4 separate regions of the Homo sapiens genome follow, and all the other regions are linked to region 1. Evidence: promoter capture Hi-C in human tissues and cell types (Jung and others, 2019). All regions are on one chromosome and are shown on one strand. The core of a region is centred on a gene start or on the middle of the fragment in contact, and the rest is flanking DNA. Distances in the headings are between cores, read along the strand shown.

Region 1 (3,374 bases), core at 278-2,777:
CGTTCCCAAGAATAACAGCAGTAAATTGCACCTAATGTGTTTATGAATGATGAAGGGACTCGAGTGTGTGTGTTTGAGTGAGTGTGCGTATGTGTGTGTTTGTGTGTACGCGCGCGCAAGTGGGTGCCCAAAGCTAAGACTTTGAAAATCTGCTAAGTATAATACAATAAAATCTACAACTCTACTATATATTCACAGGATGTGGTCAAGTAGTTGAAAGTTTCCTTGAAGGAAAATGAGGTAGAAGAAATCAGAATAGTATTCTTATGAAAGAAAAGAGAAGCGCTCTCAGGAGTATAGTTGTCACTATGTGAGTGTGTGTGCGAGCATGCATGTACACGTGTGTGTGATTGCCGGTGTATAAATGGGTGTGTGTGAGCCTGAGTATGTGAGAGTGTGTGCGTGGCTGTGAATACGTAGGCACCAGTGTGTGTGTATATATATGCAGGGCTCATTCAGGCCTTCTCAGTGTGAGGGGACCTCAAGGAAATCTGGGCAATACTTCCTCCAGTTCCTGCCCTTTCCTTTCAAACAAACAAACAAAATCATTCCTACAAGTATTTATGGAGCCTCTAACGCACACGCCCCTCCCCACTGGCATCTGGAAAAGCTCAGACCTAGCCAATTTAAAGCGGGCGCTGGAAGAAAGAAGGCGCTGGGGACAGAAGGGATGCCTCGTCTGCGAATGACTTTTGCAAAAACACGTTCTCTTCTGTGATGCTCCAAACAACCCAGGGAGGTGAGGCCAGGTAGGACTGTGGCCCCGGATTTGAGAAAACGAAGGCTCAGAGATGACACGATTGGCCCAGAGTCACCCAGTCAGGAAGCAGAAACCCGAGGATGGAACAAGGCATTGTCAATCCAGGGGTCCAAGTCGCTGCCATCACTACTTTTACCAGTCCACCAAGCGCTGGGTCTGGGCAAAGCAGGGCAAGTTTCCGGGTAAGGTTTGCCAGCAGTGACCTCAACAACATGGACCACGGTGTGTGTGTGTGTGTAGCTGTGGAGTACATTGGTGTCAACCAAGGCTCTTCAGGCAAAATTGTGGATCTCTGCCATGAGTACTAGGTGCGGTAGGGAAGCGGCTTCGTGGGCGACACTGCCATGGTTTGGCGTCCCTAGCAGCTGTGCGACCTCCAGCAAGTCGCTTCACTTCTCTGAGCTGTTTTCAGACGACCCCTTGGAAGATCGTGGACTTAAGTAAAGAATATGAGTAGAGTGCTCAGCTCAGTGCAAAAATTAAAAAAAAAAAAGTGTCAGGAGCCTTATCCGTCCTTGGATCTTAACAGTGAATGAGTTTCAGTGTTTCTTTCCAGGGGCCCTGCTGGCCGAGCCCCTTTCCTTCCCTGGTTCCTTCTCTCTCCCTCCTCTACTGCCTCCTCCCTCCAGGCTCTCGGTCGCTCCAGCAAAGTTCCCAACTTAGTCGACATGACGCGCGGCGCAGCCAATGGGAGGCGGAGTTGGCGTTTCTTGGTCGGGGGGGGGCCGGAGGGGTGGGCCCCGCGTCTCCGGTGTCTGCCGTGCTCACTGAATGGAGAGAGCGAGCGCCGGCCAGCTCACCCGGCCGCCCCGTGCCCCAGCCGCAGCCGCCGCGCTCCCCAGCCCAGCCCCAAGCCGGACCTCCCCGGGCGCCACGCCCCATTGCGCTCGCCCCAGGTCCCCAACCCGGCCCGCGGGCCAGCGGGGCCAGGGGGCGCTCCGCACCTGGGCACTCCCAGCGATGCGCAGCGGGGCAGCGCCGGCCCCGCCGATGGAGCTGCTGTTGCTGCCGCCGCCGCCGCCCGGAGCGCCCCGCTCCGCCCGCGCCCCGTGCGCCTGAGCACCGAGCTCGCCCCTCCTCCGCGCTAACTCCGCCGCCCGCTCCCCAGGCCGCCCGCGCTCCCCGCGCGCCTCCTCGGGCTCCACGCGTCTTGCCCCGCAGAGGCAGCCTCCTCCAGGAGCGGGGCCCTGCACACCATGGCCCCCGGGTGGGCAGGGGTCGGCGCCGCCGTGCGCGCCCGCCTGGCGCTGGCCTTGGCGCTGGCGAGCGTCCTGAGTGGGCCTCCAGCCGTCGCCTGCCCCACCAAGTGTACCTGCTCCGCTGCCAGCGTGGACTGCCACGGGCTGGGCCTCCGCGCGGTTCCTCGGGGCATCCCCCGCAACGCTGAGCGCCTGTGAGTACCCCTGCCCCACCCCACGCGGGCCACCCACCTGGGTCCCACCGAGGGGGCCCCAGGCGCCAGATCCGTCCTTTCCCCTCGGCCTCCCTGGATGCAGTCTCTATTCTCATCCCTTCCTGGATACGATCCCTCACTCTCCGAGCTGGGGGTCTGTAGGCTTGGTCAGATCTGGAAAGAGAGGTCTCGAAACCCCCAGCGATGGGCAAAGAGCAGTGCCTCTCCAGGGGTGAGGGTTCCAGACGCAGGGCCCGCTGACAGCTTCCAAGGAGTAGCTGAGGAGAGGCGAGGGGAGGCAAGAGCACTGCAGCCTCAAGGTCTTAGGGTGAGGGTCAGGGGTCTGCGCTCGTTAAAAAGGGGGGCGGGCGAAGGAGAAAGCTATAGGATGATGGGCCGTCAAGGCGCGGAGGCGGGAGAGAGGGCCCGAGACTGTTGACCTGCTTGGAGATCAGAATGGGCCAGCCGCTCTCTGGCTGCCCTTGCAAGGAAAGTTGAGAGTGTGGGTGAAGGTTTAACTTCTGAGGAACTGGACAGATTCAGAGTGGGTGCTCGCAAAACCCGCTCTGCCTGGAGCGCAGTCTGGGAGATGCCAAGTTGCAGCCCCGGGTGAATTTTTTATGGCTCGGTTATAAATGCCTCCCCGAACGAAGGGGCCGGAGAATGGAAATGCTGACAGCCCTTCAAATGAGACCGAGCGTTATAATCTTACAAACCGCACTCAGCCTCAGATCCTGGGCTTGGCAGCGAATGGAGAGGCGCTTGGAGAATGGGGTGGATTGACCCTAGTTTTAGCCCCAATTGTGCAACCAAATATTTACTTTTCATATGTCAACGTTTTGGAAACATTTATCATTTTGATCCTCGGACCAGATTCAAAACTTGGACTCCGGGGTGGGCTCCTCTTAGTCCGCAGTTGGGGTGGGGTAAGGGAGTGGGGGAGAAACGCTGGAGTGGGTGGGAAGCCTTACTGGGAACCCAGCCGAGAAGTGGGTGAGGGTTTGCTCTAGTGTGGTAGATTCCCTCCGTGTCTTGCTCTCCCTCTTCTCCCCTTCCTCATGTGCCTTAGGGGTAGGCGCCTGGATCTTCCACTCTGCTTTCTTGACTTCAGGCTGGAAGAGAGTAGTGATGACAAGCATTGTCCTAGAGTGTGTTATTCCTGCTAGTCACCTCCTATCACCCCACCTCCTCTTCTCTTCCACTTCTTTGTGCATCTCTGGG
Region 2 (3,374 bases), core at 431-2,930, 220 kb after region 1:
TCCACTTGTCCTTATATTGGAGTTGAGCCCATCTCTCTCCCCTATGCAAACCCCCGTTGCAGTAGCCCCCCTTAAATAAAGTCTTTCTTACCAATTTTAACAAGTGTCGTGCATAATCTCCTCCTCTTCTTCCTTCTCCCTCTTCTCTCTCTTCCCTTTGCCATTCCTCTTCCTCCTCTTCTTCTTCACTCTTCCCTTTGCTCTTCCTCCTCCTCCACCTTTCCTCCTCCCTCCCTCCTCCTCCTCCCTCCCTCCTCCTCCTCCCTCCTCCTCTTCCCCTTCCCTCTTCCTCCCTCCTCCTCCTCTTCCCCTTCCCTCTTCTTCCCTCTTCCTCCTCTTCTCTCCTCCTCTTCCCTCCTCCTCCTCCTCTTCCCTCCTCCTCCTCTTCCCTCCTCCTCCTCTTCCCTCCTCCTCCTCTTCCCTCCTCCTCCTCTTCCCTCCTCCTCCTCTTCCCTCCTCCTCTTCTCTCCTCCTTCCTCCTCCTCCTCCCTCCTCCTCCTCCCCTTCTCTCCTCCTCCTTCCTCCTCCTCCTTCTTCCTCCTTCTTCCTCCTCCTCCTTCCTCCTCCCTCTCCTCCTTCCTCCTCCTCCCTCCCCCCCTCCTCCCCCACCCTTTCTCCATCTTCCACCTCAAAGTTTGGGATCCCATCCCTGACCCTGGTCTCTTAGCCTGGACAGTGGGAGTTTTCGTTTCAGCTGATGAACTTGACATTTTCTCTGCCTGGAGACCAAGGATGAGAAGGAGAACTTCTTTGTTTAGCTAGAACTATAAGATCTGAAAACAAAAGAGAGCTGAAAGCAGGCAGGTGTGGAACAACAGCCTCATCCCTTTGATTCTGTGGGTTACACACCACCTGGACAAACCCTGGCCTGAAAACTTGGGGCTCCTTAAAGCATTTTTTCTCCCAGATAGAAAAGGAAAGAATTCATCAGTGATTCATTGCCTTGAGATACGGCAGGATGAGTAGCCAAGGATCTGCTTTTCTGTCTCTGTCACTGTCTCTGTCTCGCCTTCTCTTCTTTCTTGTTTAGGGAGCTAAAGGCAGAGACTGAATTTTAGGAAGCAATTTTTTTTTCCAATCTCCTCCAGAATTCTGTGCCATGAGAAAGCTTAAAATCCAGTGTGATAAAGGATTTTGAGTTTGAACTATGGCATTTAAAAAACTAATTAATTCCTCCAAGTCTTAGTTTATTTCTTTTTGAAAACAAATAATAGGAATATTTCCTAGACTACAGCTCCTTGAGGACAGGAATTGGGTTTGTTTTCCTTATTTCACTTGGCGTGTCTGGTATGATATCTGCCACACCATCAGTGTTCAATAAATATTGGAATGAATACATATCACCTACCACACTGAGTAGCTGAAATTATGTATTGAGATATTGTGTGCAAAAGCTCCTAGCACAGTTATTTTCATTAGTGCTCATTTTTTCTGATTTTAGACATATTTCTTAGAAGGATGAAGATGAAGGGTAAAGAAAGGAAGGTGATAGGAGGGAGAAGCTGGAGAGTAACAAGGAAAACAAGGAAATGAGTGAAGTTGGTGAAGTAGGAAGGGTGCTGGGTTTGCGGGAGACTGGCCTTTTATTCCCCACCGGGTCTGTGATTTCTGCTTGGTCATTTGACTACTCTGAACCTCAGGTTCCTCTTCAGTAAGATGGGAATACAAATCTTCACTTTATCGGTGGTGGGTATCCAAGGAGAAATATATTTGTGAAGGCAGCCCCCAGAGTTCCTGACATGCCTTAGGTACAAAACGACATGAAACCTGAAGGTGGAGAGGAAACCAGAAACAGAGCGTAGAAAGGAGAATAGGAAGCCAGGGAATCTTTTGGCTGGTTTGCGTTGGACTTGGGCCTGGGGAGACATTGCATTTGGACATAAGCCCCTTATCGATGAACCCTGTATTTGTAACCTGATGTGTTGAAATTGAAGCAGTGGGTGGTTGAGGTCAGGAGTGGGTAGGCACAGCATGTGATCCCTGTGGGTGAAGCAAAATGAACACAAGGCCCCAGATCATGCCCCTAGAAAGTAAAGCAAGGTTTCCTAGGATTCTCCAATGCACAGACTCAAGCTGAATCTTGATCCTGTATGGGTTGGAGATTGTGGTTGTCAATGAACTTGGCAAGGCAGGCAACAAACTGGCTGTGTGTAGAGACACAGCCTTAAAAAAGGAAACTTAAAAAGTGTTGCTATTTTTTAAAATAATATTTTTTTACAATGACACTTTTTTTTTTTTTTTTTAGTAATTGAAGAAGTTGTGGACATTTATTCTGGAAATTTTGGAAAATGTAGAAAACACATATAAGCCCATCAAGTGATAACCCATCTCTCCGTGACATTTTGATATACATTGACCCTTGAACAACACAGGGGTTTGGGGTGGTGACCCCCCACACAGTCAAAAATCTCTGTTTAACTTTTGACTCCCCGAAAACTTAGCTACTAATAGCCTAATGTTGATCAGAAGCCTTACTGATAACATAAACAGTTAATGAACAGATATTTTATATGTATTACTGTTTTTTGTTTTTTGTTTTTTGTTTTTTTGAGACGGGGTCTCACTCTGTCACCCAGGCTGGAGTGCAGTGGTGTGATCTCGGCTCACTGCAACCTCCGCCCTCTGAGTTCAAGTGATTCTCCTGCCTCAGCTTCCCAAGTAGCTGGGATTACAGGCACCAGCCACTGCACCAGGCTAATTTTTTGTATTTTTTCAGTAGAGACGGGTTTTCACCATCTTGGCCAGGCTGGTCTTGAACTCCTGACCTTGTGATCCGCCCGCCTCAGCCTCCCAAAGTGCTGGGATTACAGGTGTGAGCCACCGCGCCCGGCCTACATACTGTATTCTTACAATAAACTAGAGAAAAGAAAATTATTAGGAAAAACACAAGGAAGAGAAAATATACTTACAATTCATTAAATGGAAATGGATCACCATAAAGGTCTTCATCCTTGTCCTCCTCACATGGAGTAGGCTAGAGAGGAGGAAGAAGAGGAGAGTTTGTTCTTGCTGTCTCAGGGGGACAGAAGCAGAAGAAAATCCACATACAAGTGATCCCAGGTAGTTCAAACCTGTGTTGTTCAAGGGTCAACTGTTTATCCCTCTAGGGTGTGTGTGTGTGTATGTGTGTGTGTGCGTGTGTGTATGAGAGAGAGGGATTTTTGTGTGTGTGAGAGTTGTATAAAATTGGGGCATATTTTTATTATATCCTAAGTACTTAGTTGTCCCAAGTCTCATCAACTGAGTAGCACTTGATTGACTGTCAAGTCCTGTACTCGATGAATTGAACTAGATTCTATTTCTGCTTAGCTCAAGTCTTTAAATTTAAAAAGAATATTCTTGGGAAAGGTTATATTCACCCACATCCTACAACC
Region 3 (3,374 bases), core at 502-3,001, 200 kb before region 1:
ATAACAATATAAAATTCTAGCTGAAGGAATACTACAAATTTCTTTGCCTAGTGAGTGGAACAGACATATTCTGTGACTTCAAAAGAGAGAACATGTAGTGGATTAGGGATGTTAGCAAAGAGATTGGAAAGATAGCAACAAATTTTTAAAGAATTAGGAAATTGACAAAGAATCAGAAAGTTTACAGATTATAGATTTAACAATGAATTTGATGGTTGAGGGGAGAATGGAGGTAATTTCATATTGGAGTTTGGATAGAAGCAGGAAATAGAGGCCTAGATGGAAGAATTGTCAGAAAAATGATAAGAAAAGTATGCTAGGAGACATAACTGAAAGCAGTTTAATTTCAGATTCTGAAGAGGGTTGACTATTAGGCTAAGGATCTTGGTTTTACCCTGAAAGCAATAAGGTAGGCATAGAGGTGAGGGTAGAGATGGGGGGAACAGACAAGCACTGAATACTTAGAGGCAGGCTAGAGATAAGAGGGCAGCAGTGTTGGAAAAGGCTGACCTGGGGGAGGGTGTGCAGGATGTACTAGAAGGGATGAACCCAAAGGTAGCCTGAGGCTTGTGCAGAAGCCCACCTAAAGGTATAAGGCACAGGATAATGATGGTGGGAAGCCAGTCACAGCACTGACCACTGAAAATTAGTGCAGGATGTTCAGTGCAACATATGTCACAATCATATCTACCTCTCTGCTTTTGATGCTGTTTCCCCAGTAACCTCCTCCTCTATCTGCTCATCTATATTCTACTTGTCCAACACTGCCCAGGACAAGTCATGCCTCCATGAAGTCCTGCCTGCTCCTTCAGTTCACAGTGATCTCTCACTCTTTGAACTTCTAGACAACCTGTTTAATGATTTGTTCTAAGTTTAACCTAAGTTAGCACTGTCTTACAAAATATTGTATTATAAGTCTAGAAAAGTGCTAGGATCTGACTTGGTACCTCCGTGCTGACTGATTTTTAATTCTTAAGCAGTTGGTGAGCTGCTCTTCTTCACCATCATCCCTAAAATATTCTTTTCATTTATCTTTTCATCTTCTGATTAACCAAAGACTTGTGTTTGGCACATAAGAGAGAGAATTTAAATTCATTAAGAACTTATCATATATTGAAACGCTGTTCTAAGTGTTTTGCATCTATAACTCTCTAACTCTCACAGCAATCCTAAGAGGTAAGTCTTGTCATTATCCCCATTTTGCAGATAGGAAAAGTGAGGTCCAAGAGGTTAAACAACTCTCTGAAATTTGCACAGCTAGTGAATAATAGAGTCAGAGTTTCAAATTAGGTGACCTGATTGCGGAACACCCATTTGACTTCCACCTTATTCAATAAAGGTCTCAAAAAAAGTACTTGACGTATGTATGGATGCATGAGGAATGAATTCAGCAAATGACACGTCCAAGTCTTGCTGCACAGTGAGAGATGAGGTCCTCGAATACTCTATGAATGTTTGCAAGGGAAGAAACTGCTACTGGTTTTGGGTATTCCCATAGTGAATCTAATGTGGTATATATGATCTGCTGCTGACCTCTTAGGCCCTGTCAAGTTCCTAAAGATTAAGAGATTGTAAAACCTGCTTTCAGGAAGGGTATTGAGACTTTGGGAATTCTACAAAGTGTGATTGACTTAGAGGTGTGTTTACATATAAGGTGCTAATTCACAAACTCTTTAAAGTATTGGTCATCTTCAGCTGTAGCTTCAAATCCTCATAAACCTTTCCAGATACTAGATAGGGCTATAGGGTTTGGGATTCCTCTGGGGGTCAGTTAATTTAAAAAGACTGAGGCAAATGCCAGCCCGGGTGTTTATCACCAACGCTCATCATTGTTTCCCACTTTCCTCTTTCTTATCAGAAGTCAAAAGCAACATGTAAGATATGTGGCTATCAGAGGGTTATCGCTTGTTGCCAAGTGAAAAAGCACAGCTGAGTTCGGTTTAGCTTGATGGCCCCTCTGTTGAAATTCAGGATCTCTTATCTTTGCTTCCACTTCTCCTGTCTAGACACTTGACAATGATTTGCAGGAAATTGAGGCACTTACCCCTGCTGAGAAGCCAGAGCTAAAACATTTCTAAATATAATTTTACTGTGTATGTGTGCGTGTGTTTAATGTGAGTTAATGTTAATTCAAAAGGAAAACATGTTTTTTTTTTTCTCTCTGGGAATGGGATTAGCTGACCCCCACTCAGGCAGAGCTATGTGATTTTTCAGTCTAGACTTCCTAGGCTAGTAAGCTTGTCTAGTTATTTAGGACACAAAACACCAGGCTCTCTTCTCTGACAAAAAATATTGTAGGATCTAACATTCTTGTATTCAAACACCTTTTCTTTTATTTGCTTTCTTTTTATTTTCCTTCTCTCATATAGATGGAGAAATAATTTTAGTCTCTCAACACTTGATATCAGAATCTCTTATTTGAAACATTGGCTTTTGTTGAGAAAATGCTCTGATAAATTCACTTTAAGATCTCAGGGCCTTGGTATTATCATCTGGTATCCAAGTTCTAAAAGAGTAAAAGAGAGGCTTTGCTACTAAACAGAGGAGAGGAGGACTGGGGATTTAACTTTCCTGGGGGCAGCCAGAAGGGATGCCTTCAGGGTGAAGCCTGCTGGGGAAAGAGAAGAGTAATGACTTTCAAAGTTGCCAAATTTAAGAAAAAAAATGGAGAGAGAAGAAAAAGGCTTTAAGATTTTCTCTGCAAGATGACTAGTGTAAAGTACTTCCAGTTCATTCCCCATCTCTCCTGTGAAACCTTCCAATTCAGGGGCTGGGGGGAGAGAAAGGGGAGCTAAGTCATATGTTCATGTTGATGACCAAAAATGCTTCCCTAGTTTCAAGAGCCAGAGTGTGGAGTGGGGGAAGCAGCTGCTTGGACCATGTTTTAGGGCTATTTAAAGGATTGATTTTTGCACAACATACCCAAATGGCCTCAGGTTGATCTGATTCAGTTAAGATATTTGGGGCCTCAATGACATTAGCTTTCATTCCAAAACACACTCAGGAAGGAGGAATTAAGGGCAAGCCAGCCATTTGTAAAATATAAATGAAACATTCCACATATAGTTTTATCTTGTGCAAATTGGTAAGTATATTAGTTTGTTAGGGCTACCACAACAAATACCACAAACTGGCTTAAACAACAGAAGTTTACTTCCTTACACCCCTGGAGGCTAGACATACAAAATCAAAGTGTTGGCAGGGTTGACTTTATTCTGAGGCCTCTTTCCTTGGCTGCCATCTCCCTTTTCTTGATGTGGTCTTCCCCTGGTCTGTTTTCTATGTGTCCTAATCACCTCTTCTTATAAGGACACTAAGTTCTATAGGAATAGGGCCCACCCACGTGACCTCATTTTACCTTAATTGCTCCTTTA
Region 4 (3,374 bases), core at 561-3,060, 140 kb before region 1:
TGCTTAAAATCCACCAATTCCAAAGTTCAAAATTCTGTGCAAGACTCTCAGAGTTCCCGGAATTGGAGCACATTTTTCATGGCCCCTCCTATCTCTCAGGCCACTGGATCACCCTGTGACATTGCACTGGGCCCAGACATGGGTCCTTTCTTTGGATTCCATAAAAATGAACTCGATTACCCAAAATATGTGTAGATTTTACAAAAGGCATTTTTTGATAGGGGTGAGAGGGAAGAAGTAAAAACAGTTTTACTTTACAGCAAAGCAAATTAACTTCAATAGCTGACATTTGTGGTTTTAAGATGCCATTTCCCCTACTCCTTGACTCCTCCATATTTGCTAGTTGTGGGATTTGGGCAAGTTACTTAGCCTTTCTGTGCCTCAGTTTCTCATATTTAAAATGAGGACCATAGTATTATAGTATCTACTTAGATTCATATGAAGATTGAATGAGTTAATGTAAGTAAAACAATTAGAACAGAGCCAGATATTATAGCTTATATATGCAAATAGATAGATACATGATGGATGATAGATATATAGATGATAGATAGATAGATAGATAGATAGATAGATAGATAGATAGATAGATAGATAGATCTCATATACGTGTACATGTTAGGCTATTACTACTATTATTTTAATTTCTGGTTCTTCTCAGTCCTGTCTCCATTCTTTCCCCCTCACTCACCAGTCCTCCTCCCATTCAGGAACAAAAACAAAAATTTGCCCATGTCCCTCCTCTGTTCTCATCCAGAATAGTTTGTCTTCTTTCTCCTCTGAAGTCTTGGCTCCCACTGATGTCATATCCCAGGCATGTTTACCAAGGTATTTTTTAAACAATGATAGCTTCCTCTCTTAGAGGGATTAAGATGTCAAATGTCAAGATAATATTTTTCAACTTGTTATATTTACACACACACACAAAGGGTTCCATATCCTTAAAAAAATATTAAAAACACCGGCCAGGTCTTCAGGGTGTTTACTCTCTCTAACTATCCTGTGATTCTGGGGAAATAAAGCTTCCTGGTGGTATGAGATGCCTCAATACATGTCTTATGTTAATGAACTCAGGAGCAGCATAGGTTGAGTGCCCAGTCTGACTGAGCTTCCTCCGGCTTGCTCGCAGGAGCTTCAAAATACTGTTGGCCCCTTTTTAAAGAGTCAAGGAGGCTGCAGTAATGGAAGGCCAAAACCTAGAAAAATATTCAGATAACATGCTTTTCCCCTCAAAACAATATTTGGTCTCCTAACTGTCAGAGTATTTCTAGTCTTTTTAATCCACCCCACTTCCAAAAAAAGTCAGTCACACAGATGACACAGATGGGCAGAGACTTCTCTCAGTAAAAATAGAATATTATTATAGAGTTTCTCAATCTTGCTTTATGTATTGATGTTGGCTTGTAGCTAGAATAAGCAAATACCGAATCCCCAAAGATCCATTCTTTTCTCATGCTCCAATAAAGCTGATAATCTCATATATATATATATATATATATATATATATGCTTTATAATTTTATGAGGCATATTTATATCTACTAGTATACTGGTAGAAAACAACATTAAAAAGAGAAACCTCCAAACCCTATCTCAGTTTCAAATCTGCCCTGTAAGTTCTTTCCTCCTTATTGCCATAGCCCAAATAAGAGGATGGGCATCTGATTTCTTCAGCCATTCAGTTGCTGTCCTTGGCATTTGTCAGAGGGAGAAGTTGACTTTGGAAGCGTAATAATAGAAACATAGTCTATTGTAAGTTTGGGAAGTAAACATTGACAAGATTAGAGGAACAGAAAAGGCGTGTTCTGCAATCCATCTCACACAGGTGTGTCATGGCCAGAGCATAGGAAACTTGGCTTTGAGTCTCAGCCTGATGCTAACCAGCTTTATGCTCTTGGGCAAACCACATTAATCTGTCTGAGCCTAGATTCTTCACCTGCAACACGGGAGGGACAGCACTGGCCTCTTGGTGCTGTGAAAGCTTAATAACGCTTGTAGCAGTGTTTGGTGCTCCTGTGTGAAACGTGTTCGTCTCTCAGAGTTTTCAACACCATCCTCTCTTGCATTTTGTTCCCACCTTTCTGGCTCCTCCTCTTCAGTCTCCTTTGCTGCCTCCCCAGCCAGCTTGAGTTGAAGCTCCTTAAGGCTCAGATCTAGAAACAATGGTCTTCACCCTTGATATTCTTTTCATGGGCAATTCTGCCCATACTATACCCATTCTTACTCCACTGGAAGGAGTGGGGAGATGGTTTTCCCATTACTTCATCGAATGGCACCAAGGGAAAGAAAATATATAGCAATATTTTGGCATATGGTTTGCATGTTTGGGATTTTTGTTCAGAAGACTTCATTCTACGTAGGTCAGAGCCTACCAGAGGAGCAGTGAGGGTTGACTGGATGGGAACATGCCCAGCTGACAAAACCTGTATTCATGACAGCAACATCCCAAGAACATGGAATTCTCATGAGACACTGCTATTGACTCCCAGGAATAATCAAGAGAGACTCTGAAGCTCTGTTTCTTTGCAAGGGGTGGTGGGGACACTGAGTTGCAGATGTGGCTGCGAATGTTAACATGGCCACATCTGTACTCCCAGGCTGGTGAGCTTAAGAACACTAGAGTGGTAGAGCGCTTAGCCTATTTAGGTTCTTAATGCATTTTAAATCTCTTCATCTCTCCTCCACTTATTGGAATCAGAGGCTATAAGTTCCATTTAGAGCTAATCATCTTGCTCTAATGATTGTTACTGAAGACTTCATAGAATTTTGTAGTTGAAAGAGACATTAAAAGGTCAGGTGACCCAACTCTTCCAGAGAGACTGAAGAAACTTACAGCTTCAATCACCATAGAATAAACCATTCAAGGGTAAAAGAAAACTGGGACTGTCTGAAGGATGCAAAAGAAGCTGATGGCTTTAGGCACCTGATTGGGGCTAATTATAACACTTGGGTAATACATCTTGGCACAAGCTTTCTGGCAGCAAAGAAGAAGTGGAAACATGTTGGGTTACTTAGTTTTGGTTGTATGACAATGGACAACATAAAAATTTTTCTGTAGAGACAAACTCTTTCCTGGAACCAGACTTAGGCATTTATCATATGAGTCATTGTATAAAGGACACTGAGAGACAGAATGGACAGTATCTTCTTCCATGGCTTCCTACAGAATTGTGCAGTTTTCTTCTGGAGGTTCTCATCTTGGCCACTCATGAAAGTATACATTTCCTAGTAACCAGGAACTCTCTTTCTGAGGCATTGAAAAAGTCTGAAATAAACCAAAAAAGGAAGCATTGATGCTGCCTGCCCTCCTCACCACTACCCTATGGAGACAAGCTGCAGAGGCAATTCTTTTTTGGTATAATCTGAAGGCAATCA

Evidence for each region. The method cuts DNA at HindIII sites, captures the fragments that hold promoters and counts their contacts. A contact is called where the count stands out against the background at its distance.
Region 2: a fragment that was not itself captured here is called in contact with the fragment with the promoter of SLIT3 in region 1 in 4 of the 25 tissues and cell types used here (bladder, heart right ventricle, liver and 1 more).
Region 3: a contact is called between a fragment that was not itself captured here and the fragment with the promoter of SLIT3 in region 1, in 2 of the 25 tissues and cell types used here (bladder and mesenchymal stem cells).
Region 4: a fragment that was not itself captured here is called in contact with the fragment with the promoter of SLIT3 in region 1 in 2 of the 25 tissues and cell types used here (mesenchymal stem cells and small bowel).

What each region holds. Positions count from the first base shown.
Region 1 is chr5:169,299,292-169,302,665 of GRCh38, reverse strand. SLIT3 (slit guidance ligand 3) reads left to right here and starts at 1,527. Exons shown (of 36, transcript NM_003062.4): 1 at 1,527-2,153. The coding sequence starts at 1,957. The HindIII fragment of the contact is 12,348 bases long and covers 1-3,374 here.
Region 2 is chr5:169,076,714-169,080,087 of GRCh38, reverse strand. All of the region lies in intron 4 of SLIT3 (slit guidance ligand 3), which reads left to right. It overlaps LOC105377712 (a long non-coding RNA gene), which reads right to left and starts at 204. Exons shown (of 4, transcript XR_941191.3): 1 at 92-204. The HindIII fragment of the contact is 5,501 bases long and covers 1-3,374 here.
Region 3 is chr5:169,502,661-169,506,034 of GRCh38, reverse strand. The region is part of intron 2 of LOC105377714 (a long non-coding RNA gene); the gene reads left to right. All of the region lies in intron 3 of LOC105377715 (a long non-coding RNA gene), which reads right to left. Among named protein-coding and RNA genes, the nearest start is that of SPDL1, 79 kb to the left of the region's middle. The HindIII fragment of the contact is 4,832 bases long and covers 1-3,374 here.
Region 4 is chr5:169,437,991-169,441,364 of GRCh38, reverse strand. No RefSeq gene overlaps it. Among named protein-coding and RNA genes, the nearest start is that of SLIT3, 140 kb to the right of the region's middle. The HindIII fragment of the contact is 3,494 bases long and covers 64-3,374 here.